Linked DNA regions of Homo sapiens: region 1 is linked to region 2. Evidence: promoter capture Hi-C in human tissues and cell types (Jung and others, 2019). All regions are on one chromosome and are shown on one strand. The core of a region is centred on a gene start or on the middle of the fragment in contact, and the rest is flanking DNA. Distances in the headings are between cores, read along the strand shown.

Region 1 (3,450 bases), core at 480-2,979, 94 kb before region 2:
CTTTTGGACAAAGAATGATCAGTTTTATGAAGGCACTGGGAGAACAGGGGTGTGGGGGGGAGAATGGGCTGGAGCCATGGGAAGTTTGCGCCCTTTGCAGGGGAGAGGAACCTGGCCTCTCCTGTTCCTGGGTGGTAACCTGGGATTCAATCTGTGAGGCGGGAAGCCTGCTAGCAGGACTCTTGCTTTGCTAAGAATCCCTGTTCCCTTTTTTTTGTTGTTCCTTTTCACCCAATAAATCCTACCCTTCTCACCCTTCAAAGTGTCTGTGAGCCTGTCATGACTGTGAGAAAAGAACCCAGTTTTTTCCACAACACTAATGAGAGACCACTGGATGTGTAGACATAAATGACTGCAGCCATTATTCTGGAGGTCATGAGATATGCCAATTCCAGCCAGATACGGTGACTCACACCTGTAATCCCAGGACTTTGGGAGGCTAAGGCAGGAGGATCTCTTGACCCCAGGAGTTTGAGACTAGCCTGGGCAATATACTGAGACCTTGTCTCTATTTATTTAAAAAAAAATTATTTTACACAAAGATATGGGTTGGGCGCAGTGGCTCATGCCTGTAATCCCAACACTTTGGGAGGCTGAGACGAGAGGATCACTTGAGGTCAGGAGTTCCAGACCAGCCTGGCCAACATGGTGAAACCCCATCTCTACTAAAAATATAAAAATTAGCCAGGCATGGTAGCACACACCTGTAATCCCAGCTACTCGGGAGGCTGAGGTGGGAGAATGGCTTGAACCCGGGAGGCAGAGGTTGCAGTGAGCCGAGATAGTACCACTGCAGTCCAGCCTGGCAGCAGAGCAGAACAAAAAAAAAAAAAGAGAGAGAAGAAAAGAAAAAAAAGCTATGCAAATTTCCCAGTTATTCCTGCAGATAACATCATTATGACAGAACCTAAGATTGGCCTTTTGAGATGTCTTGTTGCATTTCTGACAACCGATGACTCCACGAGGACCGGCCAGCTGCTCCTGTGGCCCCACCCAGAAGCAACTCACTACACGAAGACCATTTTCCACACCCCTATGATTGCACCCCGAGCCAATCAGCAGCAAGCACCCATTGCCCAGCCACCCGCCCTTCCCCCAAACTGTCCTCGAAAAACCTCAGCCTCCAATTTTTGAGGAGGCTGATTTAAGTAATAATAAAACTCCGGGGGTGGTGCGCGGCGCCGAGCACCGCACGGAAAGGGGTAAGTCACGTGGCCACTGCCCCCGCCCCCGCCACAGTTTGTTGCTAGAAGGAAGATGGCGGGTCTGGAGGAGGAGCTGTCTGATGAAGAGAAGGGAAAAAGCAGCCCGTGCGTCTGCACAGTATAACTTGGAGCAGTTTACTCCTGTAAAAATGGAAGGTTATGAAGATCAGGTATTGATGACAAAACATGGCGACTTGGGAAATGGAAAGTTTTAGGATCCAAAGAACAGAATCTGTTTTAAATTTGATCACTTAAGAAAGGAGGCAACTGATCCAAGACCCTGTGAAGTAGAAAATGCAATTGAATCATGGAGAACTTAAGTAGAAACTACTCTGTGAGCTTACGTAAAAGAACATTACCCGAATGGAGTCTGCACTGCGTATAGCAAAAAAAAAAAATAGATGGACAGCAAACCACTATTGCATGCATAGAAAGCCATCAGTTCCAAGCAAAAAACTTTTGGAATGGTCATTGGAGGTCAGAATGGAGGTTTATAATCACTCCTTCAACCACTCAAGTGGTTGGCATCTTGAAAATTCAGGTTCATTATTATGAAGACAGTAATGTTCAGCTAGTGAGTCATAAAGATATACAAGATTCCCTAACAGTGTCTAATGAAGTGCAAACAGCAAAAGAATCTACAAAGATTGTAAAAGCTGCAGAAAATGAATACCAGACTGCCATTAGTGAGAATTATCAGACAATGTCGGACACTACTTTCAAAGCCTTACATCGACAATTGCTACTTACACGCACTAAGATTGATTGGAACAAGATCCTTAGCTACGAGGTTGGCAAAGAGATGCAGAATGCATAAGATGGACATTGCATGACCCCATCATTTTAGTGTCTTTGCGTTAAAAAACTATTGCAAAAGTATTCTGAACTGTCAAGCTGCCCAGTCTGATGGGCTGTTGCCATTTTAAATCACTGTAATTAGTTTGATTAGAGCACAAAGCTTAGCTAATCCACCATTATTTTTCATTTTGTTCTAAGAGGATTGAAAATCAGTTTAGTTTAAATGTCTTACTTTCTGTTAGTCCTTTCTTTCGTACAATGAAGAGATGATTCTCTAGTTTATGGTTAAAAGTTTTTGAAGTGTTTCAAAAATATTTTACTTACTGTAACCCTAAAATTGTTATCTTTTGGTTTATGAAATGGTTAATTTTTGATATTTCCCCAGTTAGTGTTTGATGGATTTAGCCATATAGGCTGCTAAAGAAATTGTCTACCTTTTCTTCCTCACCTGTTCCATTTATGTAAGGTTGAGATTAGAGGGAAAACATTTTCTATATCAATTGTGTTTTTAAACCTTTCAAGAAGGTTATTTAGCTTAGTATTTAACTTAATTTTTTTTAAACAAGGCAAGGTCTAATGCTGTTTTGAGATTCTGAAATTAAATGAAAATACTTATTTCAGAAATGCATTTAATGCTTTTTTTCTTGTGACAGTTACGCAAATCAGCTTGAATTCCATATGTCCCTGAGTTATTTTTATCATAAAGCCACAAATGTATTATAACAAGGCAAATTGTAATATATATAATCCTGAACTCAAAAAGAAAAAAGAAAAAAAACTCCGATCTTCTGTGTAGCCGGCCCTACGTCTATAAAATTCTTTCTCTATTGCAATTCCCCTGCCTTGATAAATCTACTCTATCTAAGCAGCAGGCAAGAAGAACCCATGGGGAGGTGACAAAAGGGTGGCTCAGAAGGTCCTATCTTATCTACAACTGCTGCTTCTCAGATGCTTTCGGCTTGAAATAATCAATATGCCAGGTCAGGGTATTTTGGGGTGTTATGTCCTTAACTCCTTTGGTCCAAAGAGTTGATTTTACTAATCATTCTCCTTGTGTGTATTTGAAAATTGCCTTCAAAACAAAACCCATGCCTTAACCACTGTGTGGTCCCAACTTAGCAGGTTACTGTAGGTTTCTGAGATGGGTGGGGGAAGGGAAAGGAGGGGGAGGGTTGAACTTGGGTTAGCCAAATTCCTCAAACGTTTGTAGCTGTAGAACCCCTTTTGTTTTATTTGAAGCATTTTTAAGAGACTAGTAATCGAAGACCTTTCTTTGGGAAGCTGATGTCTCACTCCCTGGGAGGATGCTCAGCCTTGCCTGGCCTGGTGCCCTCAGAGAGCTGCCTTCTGTGGCTCTTGCGCTGGGGTCGGTAACAGCAGGAAGCCTGTTGACAGGTAACAGCAAGAGAACAGGGGCGGGGGTGCTGGGTCTGGGGAGAGGGCTCTC
Region 2 (3,848 bases), core at 403-2,902:
AGCATACCCTGGGGATAAGCAGACAGTGGGAGAAGCATCTCTGCTCTGGGATGGGTTGGCCACAGCCTTCTAAAAGTCCCCCTCCTGGGACCCTGGAGTGGAGTCCCCTCACTCCTGACCCCCTCCTTCCTTCCTTGGCTTCTCTCCCTCAGCAGTGTCTTCCATTTGCCCAGCTTTTACCATCACCCCTACACATTGACTTTTTTCTGCCCCACTGCAAGGCAGAGGGTGAGCGTTCAGATTCCACCTGCTGGCTACCCCTACCCCTGGCTGGCATGTTCAACTCGACTTAACTGTAGCAAAATGTGCTCTCCCTACTGTCCATCCTCTCCCCTGTCGGGAACCTGCAGAGGGACCTACCTTGGCTCCCCTTTGCCCATCAAGCCTGGCGTTCCTTTTAGGTGTAGTTTACCTGTTGATCACAGTTCTTTGTGCTCCAATGTGCCCCTGGCTGTGTGTAACACACACACATGCACACACACACACACACTCATGGGCCAACTTGAGCTGTGTTTAGGAAGAGGCTCTGAGCTCTGTGACCCTGTGACCCTTCGACCCTTCCCCCAGCCAAAGCTGAAGGACCTCCTTAGTCTTTTCTGCTGAGGAAACATCGGGCTGTCCAGGCCAGGGCCCCCATTGGTCTGGACAGGAAAGAAAACACCCTGTCCAAACAGAGGCATCCTGAGCGGCTGCCTGGATGGCTGTGCTGATTAGCAGGATTCCGAAGGGAGGCCCACCCCTGTTGGAGGACCACTCAGAAGCCTGATTGCCCCTGCAGGCTGCAGAGGTATCCCACCCTGTGTCTCCCCTCCCAGCCAGGGCCACTCATTCAAGCCCCATGTGCTGGGGATAGCACCTGCTATGTGCCTGACAGTGAGTTGGGAATCTGGCCAGTGTTTCATGATGGCCAAACTCAGGGGCATGAGGACATCAGCAACCCCTTGCTTTTTTTTTTTTTTTTTTTTTGAGACGGAGTTTTGCTCTTGTTGCCCAGGCTGGAGCACAATGGCATGATCTCAGCTCACTGCAACCTCCGCCTCCTGGGTTCAAGCAATTCTCCTGCCTCAGCCTCCCAAGTAGCTGGGATTACAGGCATGCTCCACCACGCCCAGCTAATTTTGTATTTTTAGTAGGGACAGGGTTTCACCATGTTGCCCAGGCTGGTCTTGAACTCCTGACCTCAGGTGATCCACCGGCCTCCACCTCCCAAAGTGCTGGGGTTACAAGCATGAGCCACTCACTGCACCTGGCCTCACCCCCTTGCTTTCTATTTGGAAAAGAAAGTAATACAGAAGTCTCACCCCTTCCACAATCAAAGGTGGGGAGCAGCCTTAGCCCCTAGCAGAATGCTGGACAGGGGCTTCCCCTGCTTACTCCCACTGTTTTTGGTATACCAGGCTTTCTAAGGGGATCCCCCCTCCCCAAACTCTCCTATTCCACCCCTACTCTCCTTTCCCAAGACGTGAGGGCCTCAACTCTTGCACACCCTCTTTGCGGTGGTTCCCAGCGAGTCTGGAGACCGCTCAAGCCTGCAGCAGCTCCTCCCTTCGAGCCCAGCCCTTGGGAGGGAAAGGTGCGCGTGTTCCTTTAAGGGGCTGGTCTGGCGGGAGCGCGGGGGTTTTTCTGCTGCCGCTTCCTTTCTGCCCTTTTAATTTCCCCGAAATCAGACTGCTGCCTTGGACCGGGACAGCTCGCGGCCCCCGAGAGCTCTAGCCGTCGAGGAGCTGCCTGGGGACGGTACGTGGCTTAGGGGTCGCTGGGCTTCTGGGGCTGTGTGCGGGCCGGGTTCCTCCCTTACCGCTTTGGGTGCCCTGCGGGTCCCCACACCTCCCGGGCAGGGTCCGGGGAAGGGGCAGGAGGCGTGGGCCGGGCACTGCGGAGGCCCGGGCTGAGATGGGCTGTGATCGCGGGCGAGGGGCGCCCGGGGCACAAGTGGGGAGGGAGCGGCGCGGGGATGCGGGCGCCGGACCCTCGTGCCCACCGTGAGGGAGCAGAGCCCGAGCGGACCCCGTGGCCTCCGAGACCACCGTCCGCCTCCAGCCCCCTTCCTGCCAGGGTCCGCTTGGCTCTCTCCCCTGTCGTCTGTCCAGGGTCGGCTGCCTCCAGTGCCGTCCGCGGCGCCCCAGGCCCTGCCCCTGGGTATCTGTTGGATGCTCCGGGGGCCCCGGGAGTCCTGGGAGGGGCTGAGGGCAACCTGCGAGGCGGCTGGCGGACCTGCGCCTCTGGACCGCAGCTGGCCGGCTCTGGGCGCCTGGGGCAAAGGCAACTGATGCCTATGGGTTCCAGACCTCGCTCACCGGGGTTCTTGCCCCAGGGACAGCGAGGCCAGAAGGGTAGGGAGGGTGGAGGGCAGAGCCCTGGGTGGGAGATGGCGACCCTCAGGGAGAAACGTAGGCTTGTGCGCAGCCAGTATGGAAACAGCACGGCACTTGGACCCAGTCCTGCCACCAGCTCGTTGGCAGCCACAGGCCACAGGCAGCCTGTAAACCTGTTGGGACCTTGGTGTCCAGCGCTGACCCGCGGGAGTGCCTGTGCTCCCTGGAGTAGGGGGCAGCGATTGAGAGGGGCCCTGGCTTCTCTCCCTCGACGCCGCCCGGGCCAGCGGATTGGGAAACACCTCCGGTTTTCATTCTCCTGGGGGCTGCAGGTTTCAAAGGCGGAGATCAAGCCTTGTGCAAACAGGGACAGGGATGTCAAATTTCTCGCTGGGAGCAGCGCTCGTGCAGACCTCGCGGGCGATGCTGCCTCCTGCTGGTACCTGGGGGACTTGTACTCACGGAAGGCCCAGTGCGGACATGCACCTGGCAGGGAGGTGGCACCTACCCTCCCTCCAAGCCCAGGCTTATTGTTCTTGGGTGGAGGGGTCCCTAGGCTGGGGCGCCTGGGAAAAGCAAAGGGCTGGTCATCAGGAAACCTGAACTTTCTCTAAGTTCGAGATATTTGACAAAGATAACGCCTTGGGTAGTTCACTGACCTCCACTCTCTTGGCCTCAGTTTCCTCAACTGTGAAGAGGAGGCAGTGGTGACCACTTTGTCTCGTAGGCAGTGAGAGAGGAGAAAGAGCCACTGAGATGGTGTAAGACTTCACTGTGTGAACTGCTCACCAGAGTAGTAACAGGTCATATTTTCCCAGTGCTTGCTCCTTATCAAGCATCAAGCAGTATTTTCAGTGCTCTGCAGCTATTCTCTCCCTTAATCTTCACGAGAGTGTTTTCTGTTTGGTATTGTCGTGACCGCCCCCCCCACCCCAACTTTTTTTTTTTTTTTGAGATGGAGTCTCACTCTTCTTGCCCAGACTGGAGTGCAATGGCTCAATCTCGGCTCACTGCAACCTCCGCCTCCTGGGTTCAAGCGATTCTTCTGCTTCAGCCTCCCGAGTAGCTGGGACTACAAGCGCTCATCACCACACTCGGCTAATTTTTGTATTTTTAGTAGAGATGGGGTTTCACCGTGTTGGCCAGGCTAGTCTTGAACTCTTGACCTCAGGTGATCTGCCCACCTCAGCCTCCCAAAGTGCAGGGATAACAGGCATGAGGCACTGTGCCTGGCTTGTGACCCCCATTTTAAAGATGAAGAAACTGAGGCTCAGAGAGGTGCAGCGACTTGTCCAATGACAGAGGGTTAGTAAGTGGGTGGAGCCAGAACTGAATGCAGGCAGCCAATCTGCTTCTAGAGCCTGAAATCTTTGCCATGTTCATTTGTTGAGCACCTGCTGCATGCCAGGGACCAGACATCATACATCTTCTATAATTGTCACCACAGCCCATTTTTTTTTTTTGAGCTGGAGTCTTGCTCTGTCGGCCAGTCTGGAGTGCAGTGGTGTGGTCTTGGCTCACTGCAACTTCCGC

What was found. The method cuts DNA at HindIII sites, captures the fragments that hold promoters and counts their contacts. A contact is called where the count stands out against the background at its distance.
Region 1: a contact is called between a fragment that was not itself captured here and the fragment with the promoter of HAPLN3 in region 2, in 2 of the 25 tissues and cell types used here (IMR-90 fibroblasts and psoas muscle).

What each region holds. Positions count from the first base shown.
Region 1 is chr15:88,988,091-88,991,540 of GRCh38, reverse strand. It overlaps the pseudogene LOC100129942. Among named protein-coding and RNA genes, the nearest start is that of CARMAL, 51 kb to the left of the region's middle. The HindIII fragment of the contact is 3,911 bases long and covers 1-3,450 here.
Region 2 is chr15:88,893,348-88,897,195 of GRCh38, reverse strand. HAPLN3 (hyaluronan and proteoglycan link protein 3) reads left to right here and starts at 1,652. Exons shown (of 5, transcript NM_178232.4): 1 at 1,652-1,737. RefSeq lists an enhancer at 1,815-2,426. The HindIII fragment of the contact is 23,597 bases long and covers 1-3,848 here.